2 separate regions of the Homo sapiens genome follow, and region 2 is linked to region 1. The links are contacts of gene promoters, found by promoter capture Hi-C in blood cells and fetal thymus (Javierre and others, 2016). All regions are on one chromosome and are shown on one strand. The core of a region is centred on a gene start or on the middle of the fragment in contact, and the rest is flanking DNA. Distances in the headings are between cores, read along the strand shown.

Region 1 (5,879 bases), core at 2,429-4,928:
TAATGAAAATAATAAAAAGAATAGCTAACATTTATTAAAGTCTTGGTATATGGCATGAATTTTGCTTTTCCTTGCTGGTGGCAATCCATCTTCTTGTTATACCCTGCCACCTGCACTAGATCTTAGCTCAGATGCCTCCAACAAGAAGTCCTCCTTGGTTAGTCAAGCCAGAAGTAATTCTTCACTTCCTCAGTGATTAATTTGTACCATTCACTTTCTGCTTGTGTTGTAGGGTTCTTATAAATATCTTCTCTTAAATATAATAAGACATTTGACAGAAGAGACCTTATCTAGTGTAGCTTTATATGATATACAATCTGTAGGACAGTCTCATTTTATAATCCACTTCAGATATTTAGGAAAAGTTACATATGCTTTTTCAAGATATGTAAATGAATTCATATGATGGATGTGTTATTTGGGATTATAGATTTCAGAACTCAATATCTCAGAGTATTTTAAGACAGGTAGAAGAGAAAAATAATATTAAAAAGTCAATTAAATGCATTGAAGACTAAATGAATTTAAGGTTGAATTGTGTAGCATTATCTCCAGTCTACAATTATAACAAACTAGAAACAAAATATTTTTCCTCTTGTTCTCTCTAGAGAATAAGATTTCTGGGTAGTCCAGTTTCTTTTTGTGCTTTCAGAGCAGCTTTATATTCAGGTAGTTTTTTGTGGTCTTGGTGCTTTCAGCTTGATTGGTGTAGAAAAGACAGTTTGCCTTGGGCTTTTGAAAATGATCTCCATATTGATTTAATAAGGGATTGATGCAGGTTTGGAGCGAAAGCCTCTGAAGTTGGTGTGTAGCTCGCTTTGTAAGACTAACACTACCTTGAATGGCCAAGTCCTTAATGAAGGTTTCTACTTATTTTGATGGAGATTTTCAGTTTTATAAAGCTCCCATATATAAAGCTCATAAATACTCCAGAGAGAGTTAACACTTAAGCCACCACCAGCTTACACAGTTAGACTTAGCTATGATATTTATAATTTAGCTGAAGAGTTTTAACTGAAACTTTAAAAGGTTTACCTGAAACTTTGAAAAGTAAGGACTAACACAGAAATAAAATACAGAGAAAGGAAACTGGAGTGAAGAGGAAGGAAAAGCCAGTGAAAAATGCCAACCCTTCTGCTTTCACCCGGTGGGGAGGTACCTCCATAAAGGCAAATGTGGTTGGCTTTTCTTATTCTGTGTGGAGAGTGCTTCACAGCCTCTGTGTTTACCTTTGCAGTTGTGAGCTTGCCCTAATGTGGACTCTGCCTCACCAGTCCTGACTTTTCCCTCATTTGCTTCTCAGAGGCTTCCTCAGGAATTAGGTGGGGTTGGCCAGAACAGAGCTACAAAGAAAGGGTAGGCCATCGTAGCTCTAAGACTGTTTCATTCTCTAATTATTAAGGTTCCAAAGGAAAACTTTCAGCAGCACACAATTTTTTCAAAAAAACATGCTTTATTATTGTTTGCTTTTATTTATACTTTAAATTTTAAAATAATTATGGACTCACAGGAAGTTGCAAACATACTACATAGAGCTCCTGTGTGACCTTCACCCAATTTCCCCCAATGATATTATCATACATAACTATAGTTCAATATTAAGACCCAGGAAATTGCCATTGGTACAACTTATCTTATTCAGATGTCACGTTTTTATGTGCATTCATATATGTATGTAGTTCTATGCAGTCCTATCCTGTGTATAACACACATTCATGTAACCACCACCACAATCTAAATTTGTCTCATCATAACAAATAAACTTCTTTATTCTGATCCTTTACATTTGCCCCACCGCTAACCCCTGGCAACCACTATCCATCTCTATAATCTTGTCATTTCAATAATATTATTTAAATGCAGCCCAGTGTTTCTCCATTCACGTTGCTCTTTTTCCAAAGCATAGTATTCATATACTTGGGAAATACTGGGTCTACCAAATAACAATAATATCAACTATATACAGGCACTGAGCTAAGTCCTTTTTCCACTTAATCTTCAAAATAGCCCTGTGAGGCTATTTATTAATACCTGGCATTAGTATTAGTAAATCACATCACATTACCCTCACGATTAAAAAAGACCTCTAATGTCTCCCAATTTCATTTAGAGGAAACATGGACTCTCACTCTGGCTATAGGACCCACTCCCTTAGCTGACCTTTTGTTTCACTACATCTCTTACCAACCCCACCCACCTTGCTCTACTCTATTTGGAGTGGTATCGTTCTGTCCTTGAATATGCCCAGTCAAGCTGCTTCCTGCCTCAGGACCTCTGTATCTGCTGTTCCTTCTACCTGAAATTCTACAGTCAGATCCGTCAATAGCTGGTTCTCTGTCCTCATTAAGTCTTAACTCAAAATTTTATCTTCTCAGAGAGACTCTCCCTGTACACATAATGTAAAAAACCAAAAACCTCTCCATATGGGGCTGCCAGATTTAGCAAACAAAAACATGACACCCAGTTAAATTTAAATTTCAGATAAATAATAGTATTTTAGTATAAGTATGTCCCATGCAATATTTGGGACATACATATACTAATATTATTCATTGTTTCTCTGAAAGTCAGTTTAATTGGGTGTCCTGCATTTTGTCTGGAAGCTCTTCCTCTGTAGCCACTCTGTTATGTGGTACCCTGCTTAACTGTTTCCATGGGACTTTTGCATATTAGAAATTCTGTTTATTGTCTCGCATCACCTCCCAACCCTCACCCTCACAATAAGCTCCATGTGGGTGGGACCCTGATGCCCTGTTCACAGCTGCATCCCCAGAGCCTATCACAGTGCCTGGTATATAGTAGGTGCTTAATAAATATTTGTTATAAAGGTAACAAAAACAAAACAAAACAAAAAACTTAGGTTGGTAACACCTCCAAAGCATACTGCTAGCTAGACAAGACTGATCAGTGTGCTACCGCAGCTTAGGGAACTCTCCCGTTTTCCCCATTTAGGAGGACGAAAGAGGCATTGTGTTGCTGGCCTTTCAGAAGTCTCTCCTAGCAGAATCAGAAGACCCTGGCTGAGCAGCTTTGGGAGAAGCAAAGTCTGAATGAGCTAAAAAGCCTTTTCCGTTTGCCTTGCAACAAGCAAATGAAGTAACCAAAGAAAAAATGCGCTTGAATGAAAAGAACAAGATTCTGTGCGTGCCGAATCGGATCAAAGGCAGTGCGCATCACCCATCTTCGTCCACCGTAAACTCCCTGCAACTTAAGGGCTGGCTTTATCGTCAGACTCCGGAAATGCTAGAACCTGATCATAAGAGACCAGTGCAGAGGCAAATAAAGAAAAGGGAGGGGTGGATGGGGATGAAGTCAAGACAGAAGAAATTAAACTCTCGTCTTGGACCCAGGGAGCGCAACGGGGCGGGGGCAGACGTCTTCAGCTTTAGAACTCCGTCGGGTTCATCGCTCAGTGTGGACGATCGGCGCCCCCACGAGACCCATCGAGGGCACATAGTTTCCACTCCAGCTCGCTTCATCCGACCCAGACGATCGCCAGCGCGGCCAGCGGCCAGCGCACAGCGAGCTGCCTGGGCAACTGTGGCCGGATCCTAGGGAGCAAGCTGGCTTCGGGCCCTACCTAGCTCCACCCGGCTCCTACCGGCCCTCCCACCTAGGAGCTGGAGGATGGTCCCGGGGCGCCCCAGGGGGACTGCTGGTCCCCGGAGTCTCCAGCCAGACGCGCCTTGTTGTGTGAGCCGCGTGCGCGCCCAATTTGGAGGCAGCCGCCCCCGCCGCTGACAGGTGCTGCCCAGAGGGCGCCGGGTGCGGTCCCTGGCGCAGCTGGACGCGCACGCCCCGGTGCGTGCAGCTTCCCGAGCTCGGTCAGAGAGAAGAGGGAGCCAGGGCGCGGCCTGGGGGACGCCAGTGGACTGGAGCCGCGGAGCTTCGAGGGAAAAACTTTGCAGGCGCCGCGGCCGGGATTCGGTTACGGCTCCAGCCCACCCCAGCAGGTGCGGGAGGAAGAGGCAGCGCCGGAGTCCCGAGGCCAGAGAGCCTCGGCGGCGGCGGCCGCTTCTTTCCCCCGAGCTGGCCTGAAGTCGCTGGGCACTCCCGGTTTCTGCTGCTGCGCCCGCCGCCGCCGCCGCCGCCACCGCCAGCGCCGCGGGGACCCGGGAGGAGGTGCAGCCGAAGAGGGAGGAGAAGCAGGAGGAGGAGGAGGAGGAGGAGGGGAGAGGAGGAGCAGGGGGTGGAGGATGGAGCCCCGGGCTGCCGCGGCGGGCGAGCCAGAGCCGCCGGCGGCGTCCTCCTCCTTCCAGGCCCGGCTCTGGAAGAACCTGCAGCTGGGGGTGGGCAGGAGCAAGGGCGGCGGGGGCGGGCGCGCTGGGGGTCCAGAGCGCCGCACTGCGGACACCCCGTCGCCCTCCCCGCCACCCCCGGTGGGCACAGGGAATGCACCGGCCAGGGGGAGTGGTGCAGGCAGCAGGTGGAGCGGCTTCAAGAAGCGGAAGCAAGTGCTGGACCGAGTCTTCTCCTCCTCGCAGCCCAACCTGTGCTGCTCGTCGCCGGAGCCCCTGGAGCCCGGCGGCGCCGGCAGAGCCGAGCAGGGGTCCACGCTACGCCGCCGGATCCGCGAGCATTTGCTCCCCGCCGTAAAGGGGCCCGCGGCGGCCTCGGGAGCAGCGGGAGGGACGCCTCCTGGCGGACGCTCCCCCGACTCAGCTCCTTCCTCTTCCTCCGCCTCATCCTCCCTGTCCTCCTCGCCCCAGCCTCCCCCGAGGGGGGACCGCGCCCGAGATGAGGGTGCACGGCGTCAGGGCCCCGGGGCGCACTTGTGCCACCAGAAGAGCTCCTCTCTGCCGGGCACCGCCTGCCTGGAGCAGCTGCTGGAGCCGCCGCCTCCTCCCGCAGAGCCGGCGCGGAGTCCCGCGGAGTCTCGGGCCCCGGAGACGGGCGAGGAGCACGGCAGCAGCCAGGTGAGTGCCGGTGGCGCGGCCGGAGACAAGGTGCGCGGGACCACGCCTCCCTCTTCAGGCGTTCACCACCCGGGGAGCGGGGGGCGGGGGCCGGGAGGCGGGAGGAGAAATGCTATTAATTCTAAGTAGATGAAACAGTCGAAAGAAAACATCTCGCTCTGGTTTAGCAAAGATGAAAGAGTTCTGACTTGCACCCGGACTTTACTTTTGGTAGAAATGATACCTGTCACCAGAAGCTTTCTGAGTAGTCAATGAAAAGTTAGACCTAAAGTGGGTACTTTTTAGAGTTCTCCTGAAAGGAGATGTCCAGCCAAATCTCATCTTGGCAAAAGAAAAAACTAACCCAATAACTTAAAAACAATTACGATCACGTGTGGTGGTGTGGAGAGGTACCATTGGAAGCAAATGGCTGGCGGGAAGAAATAGAAACGTGGAGAGGTAAATTATGGCACATGTGAGGTCCTGTGCCAGGGAAAGCATCATCTCAGGCCTGCATCCGGCACCCCTTTCTTAAACCTTCCTGCTGCAATTGGATCACCGCCCTTCAAGTGGACAGCGGGAGCGTCTCCTCCCAGTTAGTCAAATGCATATGTTCCTATGAGCCTTGTGAAGTTTTAATAGTCACCTGAAGCACTTGCTTTTTAAAGTATGCTGCTTTATACATCATGTTGATTGCTCAGACAAGAGTCAAGGTTTGTAAAAGTGCTTTTACTAGAAATTTTATGTGTGGGACCCACAATGTGTCCCACTGAATAGCCGTTTTTACTCCCTCAATTTCGAAGAGGCACTGCTCTTTTTGTAAATGTTTATCAAATCATTTTAATTCTAGAAAATATTTTGGAAGTTTCACTCTGCCAGAGACCTAAAGAACATTTTTCTCCCAATATATCTTAGTTTACTTACACTTTCTCATTGTTTTGACTCTGATTAATTATGTTAGATGAATGACACTTGCATTAAAAC
Region 2 (5,876 bases), core at 1-2,500, 230 kb before region 1:
AAATTGTGAGTATTCTATGTGTCTATGAAAAAGAACTTCAAAATTTAGTATTACTAATTTTCTGAGACTTTCAACTAGACAAGGGGCCTATTTTAAGAAAAAAAATGTTATGTTTTTTAGAATGCTGTTGCATGGACCAACTTGGGAGTGTTATACCTCACAAATGAAAACATTGAGGTAAATATGTTGCCTGTCTGTCATATTTAAAACAAAGAATGTTTTCTATATTATTGTCTCCTCAATAGCTCAGCTTCTTGTGGAGAAATGTTTTTGCACATCGTTATCTAGCCAGTATGCTCTCCAGTATGCTAGTTAATTGATGATATTCAATTTATGTCGAATAATTAATGTGTAAGATTTATTTTCCTTTTTATGACCTTCAAGAAACTTCTGGTTTTGTGATTATGTTGGTTTTTCATTTAGAGATTAAAACAGTTTGATTCTGAATCAATTCAGCATTTTTTTAAATCTGTACACATGTAAGAGAAGTCCTATGTAGATAGTGTTGGAGGTGGAGTGGATGAGCACAAGGGAGACAGTTAGTACTCTCTAGCAGCTTAAATTTAACCTTTCTTGGATGCTTTACATTTTGGCTTTAGTAGATATTAATCTCTTTAAATAGCAAGTGTAATTTGTCATACTTGAGCAATTATACATTAGGCAATTAGAACTAAAGTGACTGGGAGTATGTTTATAGGTCATGTTTGGAAAGTTTCCATAAATCTATAGGTAATACCATGTCTGAACTGTTTTGTGTTTCAGCTGGTATATTGAATCTCATCCCAAAAAGCTTTCTCAATATTCTCAAGGATACATTAAGTCCCTGCAAAAAAGACTGGATTTAGAAAATTGTAAATAGATTGAAGAAAATATTAATTTGGATTTTAAAATACGTGAACTTTTTTTAATTTAAATAAAACAATGTCTTAATAAGCTATGGATGTGGTTTTATTGTAGCATGGGATAGTTTTTGCCCATGAGCTTACTTTTTAAAAATAGGAAAAATAAGACTGTTTCCTGCCATACATAGATTGTTGAGAAAATAGTATAAAGCAGTATGTAATAAAAAGTTATTTTTTGTAGCAGAAAAAAAAGCATCCAAGTTAATGTGTCCAAATTAGATATTTTTGAAGTTTCCTGATTGCTTAATGCAGAATTATGTTGTTGATCACTCCTTCTCTGGTAGCAGGTATACACATGTCTAGGACTTCATTGGTTAGGACTTCATTGGTTGTGAGTTCTTATCCTCCCAGTTAAGCTAAAAGGGGAATAGATAGCCTTATTTAATCATTGCCTTCAAACCTATGGCTATCTAATGGATGGATGATTGGTTGGTTAAAAGTTCTGCAGATGACAAGGTAGAACCCTTTTTTGCTAGGGTTCAGAACTCCTAACCTGGGGAGAAATCTGTTGCACCCAGGAGTGTTCCAGAACTGTGTAGTTAAAACACTGCTTTAAGCATTGCTAATTATGCTTAAACAGTGAAATTTTATGTTCATACATATTTATGATGAGAGGTTTGACTTATTTTATGCTTTTTAAACATAAGCGGTTTAATAAGTTTATAAAATGACTTGCTGTAATATTTTTTGCCTTTTTTTCCTAGCAAGCTCATGAGGCTTTCAAAATGGCTCAATCCCTTGATCCATCTTATTTAATGTGCTGGATTGGACAAGTAAGAAATATAACATATAGTTACTAATAAGCTTGTTGATATCAATAACTGACTAATATGCATAACAGTGATAATAATGGTAACGGATAGCATTTGAGGGCTTACTTTGTGCCAGTCACTGTGCTTAGCTCTTTGTATACACTATTTCAGTTAATCTATCAATCATCAATTCTTTGAGATATGGTTGATGTTATACTCTCTTTATAGTTGTGGAAATAGAAACTCAGAGCTCCTAAGTGTCATTCCTAAGGCCACGTAGCTTGTAAGGATTTAACTCTGACTTGGGGGGCCTTTGAACACTTACCAGTCTGACATTACTGTGCCTAAAAAATAAACCCAGAACTCTATTGTTTAACTCACATGTACAAAGAAAATGCACATTTACAAAGATCATTTTGAATATTATGTTTCTGTAAAATCTTCATATTTGGTTTGTCACTTGTTTATGAGTGTTCTTTCCTCCCCCAAATTCAGATTTTTGTACTGCCAAATAGGAATCAGGATACTTTGTTACTAGTCTGAGTCTGTTACCTACTGATTTTTTTTTCTTTTTTTACCTTAGCATATCACTTTTCTGGATTTTAATTTTCTCACCTGAAAAAGAAGGGGATTAGACTGAGTGGCCTCGAAGTTCTTGCCTGGTTGAGAAATTATAATGAATTAGTAAGCAGTCAGTTGCTTATCAGAAAATTATTAATCAGGGTTTAGAGATCTTTTGTTGTATTTTAGACTCTTGGGCCTAATTCTAGTTAATTGGTGAAGCAAGCAGAGCTAGAAAGGCAAACTCCTGTTCCCATTCACTGTGGTAGCATTTGGGAGCAGTGGCGTTACTGTGCTAGCCTCTGTGTCAGCCATTGAACCCAGGGAGTCCAAGAATTTGCATTCTAACTGCTCCCAAGTGATGATTATGAGGCTGGTCCAAGGGACCTCACTTCGCGTAGTACTGCTCTAGCTCAGTAGATCTTAGATGATTATCAGAATCACTTTTTAATTTTTATTTTAAAAGTATTTTTGGTTTTAAAAATAATTTATTTTAGCAGGTAACTGGAAGATTTAGTTAAAATAATAACAATAGAAGTGAAAAACTTAGGTTAACTTTGCTTTTAAGCTCAGCTAGTAAACCTTTGGTTCTTCTAGACAGTTTCATTTTGTATTATTATTGTTACTGTCTTTTAAACACATTAAGAGTCTGTTTTTTTCCTTTTATAGGCTCTTATTGCTGAGGCAGTTGGAAGTTATGACACCATGGATCTCTTCAGGCACACTACAGAACTAAATATGCATGTAAGAATCTGAACATTCTTCTTGAGGATTCATTAATGAGAAAAGTGTTATCCTTGTTAAGGGAATGAATAGATATTGGGCTAGGCATAGTGGCTTATGCCTGTAATCCCAGTGATTTGGGATGCCAAGGCAGGAGGATTGCTTGAGGCCAGCCTGGACAATATAGCAAGACCCTGTCTCTTAAAAAAAAAAATTAAAAATTAGCCAGGTATGATGGTGTATACCTGTAGTCCTAGCTACTCAGGAGGCTGAGGCAGGAGGATTGAGTCCTGGAGTTTCAGGATACAGTGAGCTATGATCATGCCATTGCACTCCAGCCTGGGCAACAGAGCAAGATTCTGTCTCTAAGAAAAGGAAAAAGAAAATGAATAGATAGTGGTATTAGATGTTAATGACATCAGTTGTTTTTATTCTTTATTCTTTCTTAGAAACAGATTAGTTTTCTCGAATTAAAGAACTACCATTTTTCTTTTTTCTACAACTTTCAAGAGCTGGTGAAGAAATGATGTTTAGATTTAATAGATATAGTAGCAGTCATATATTAATAGAATAGAAACTGAGACTCTAGGAAAAAGATAGACATGAGATAAGGAGTAGGCATGGTAGACATTTCTAGATTATTTATGAAAATGTTGTAGAATTCATTTTTTTTTTTGGTCTGACCTTTGGCAATGGTGCTGAGGAAGGGAAAGCCAGCCCATCAGGCAAGGCTCTGTTTTCTGCATTTTATCCCGTTTGATTCTTCTCGTTAGGATTGGAGCAAATAATTTCAATATGTTCTTCGCTGTGTTTTATCATAGTGACCCTTCATTTAAAGGTACTTTTAACAATTGACTTAAAGAACACTGAGATGTGATATTTATTGTATTGAAGTGCATTGTTTTACTTCTTATTATAATTTTTATTGACACATTTATTATCCTATGTCTGCTTAACGTTGGCTTTTTTAAAGACTGAAGGAGCATTAGGTTATGCGTATTGGGTCTGCACAACATTGCAAGATAAAAGCAACAGAGAAACAGAGCTGTACCAGTACAACATCCTCCAGATGAATGCTATTCCAGCAGCACAAGTTATTTTGAATAAATATGTAGGTAAGGTACCTGTTATATAATAGCAAGATATTTGAGCAACTATTGAAATAATTTAAATAATTTTTAAAATTAATTCATGTCAAATTAAATATTGGTATTCTTTAAGACATGAATTTGCCTTCTTTTTGCAACAGCGAAGCAGTCTTTACTTTGTAAACTTTAATAAAGGCTTTTGAAGAAAGATAAAAATTGTTACCTAATGATGCAAGAAAAAAGTAATTTCCTTGTTATAGTGTAGAGTGTATTAGGCTTTAATACACTCTCCACTATACACTATACACTAGAACAGTTGCTGCTGTTCTCGCTTTGCCTTTAACTTTCTCTGCAGTCTTAGGCCAAGTGTTTTACCACCCTTAACTTCTGTTTACTCCCTGGATAGTGGATATAACAATACCTGGATTGTAGAGTTGTGAGAACTAGATGAGATAATATAAATGAAGTGCCAAACCCAGTGCCTTTAGCTTCCCCACTTAACACCTGATTTTTCTTGAAGATATTGGAAAGATACATTTAGGTTTAGGAAGTTGACAGAGTGGTGAAATTTTATTAACCATCTGTTGTAATAATTCCGTCTTTTTTAATAAAACTACCATTGGGTTTTAATCTCTGCTCCACCACTTAGTAGCCTTGACTGAAACCTTGGGCATGCTACCAAAATTCTCAACAGGAAAGTGTTTATTGCTTAGTGTTTAAACAAGATGATTTGTACAAAATGTTATGCAGGGTGCCTGGCATATCCTAGATGCTCAAGAAATGTTAGTTTCATTAACTTTTGACAAAATGCTAATAAAGAAGCAAGGAGTTTAAGCAAGAGTACTGAAAACAGTAAATATTGGCAGTCAAATAATATAAAGAATCAGATAAATTGTGAAAAACAGGAGAGAAAATGCCTCACTGTAGATATTGTGGGGATTGTGGCACTCTGCATGCATTTAGCCTGAGGCACTAGACTAGGCAATTAATTTACAAACATCAGCACTTGGGGGGGTTTGCCTTAGGGTGGGTGTGGCATGTGAAGGCATGGATCTCCTCATGCTTATTTTGTATTTATTTATTTATTTTTTGAGACGGAGTCTCGCTCTGTCACCCAGGCTAGAGTGCAGTGGCGCAATCTCGGCTCACTGCAACTTCACCTCCCAGGTTTAAGCCATTCTCTTGCCTTAGCCTTCCGATTAGCAGGTAGGCGTTACAGGTGTGTGCCACCACGCCCGGCTAATTTTTTGTATTTTTAGTAGAGGTGGGGTTTCACGGTATTAGCCAGGATGGTCTCAATCTCCTGACCTGGTGATCCACCCGCCTCGGACTCCCAAAGTGTTGGGATTACAGGCGTGAGCCACTGTGCCTGGCCCTCATGCTTATTATGACTCAATTTTGTTGACTCTTTCTTTTGTGACTTTAAGGATTTTTCAAGAATAACTTTGACTATTTGATTTTAACCTTAGTTGTTGATCTTAGAACCTAGCAATCACAAAAGATATGGTTACAGTGTACTTTGTTAAATAATCTAAAGGATTTGAAGGCTTACTTTCCACTACTACTTTTAAGTACATTAGATCAGATACATTTCTTTTTCTACATTTTACCTTCATAGATAGGTAATCACCCAATGGGTTCACTTTGCCCGCTGCCTAGACAGAGCCAATATATCAAGACAGGGGAATTGCAATAGAAAAAGAGAAATTCATGCAGAGCCGGCTGTGTGGAGGACTAGAGTTTTATTATTACCGAAATCAGTCTCCCCGAACAAGCATTTGGGGATCAGCATTTTTAAGAATAATTTGGTGGATGGTGGTGGGCAGGCAGTGAGTAGGGAGTGCTGATTA

What was found. Contacts are between HindIII fragments. The CHiCAGO score rates a contact against its expected background, and 5 or more counts as called.
Region 2: a fragment that was not itself captured here is called in contact with the fragment with the promoter of MCTP1 in region 1 in 2 of 17 cell types (megakaryocytes and endothelial precursors); the score reaches 9.6 in megakaryocytes.

What each region holds. Positions count from the first base shown.
Region 1 is chr5:95,282,893-95,288,771 of GRCh38, reverse strand. MCTP1 (multiple C2 and transmembrane domain containing 1) reads left to right here and starts at 3,678. Exons shown (of 23, transcript NM_024717.7): 1 at 3,678-4,916. The coding sequence starts at 4,197. RefSeq lists silencers at 4,330-4,389, 4,470-4,589. The HindIII fragment of the contact is 7,244 bases long and covers 1-5,154 here.
Region 2 is chr5:95,510,654-95,516,529 of GRCh38, reverse strand. SKIC3 (SKI3 subunit of superkiller complex) reads left to right here. Exons shown (of 43, transcript NM_014639.4): 24 at 1-5; 25 at 121-177; 26 at 1,607-1,675; 27 at 2,885-2,959; 28 at 3,912-4,053. Among named protein-coding and RNA genes, the nearest start is that of SKIC3, 41 kb to the left of the region's middle. The HindIII fragment of the contact is 916 bases long and covers 793-1,708 here.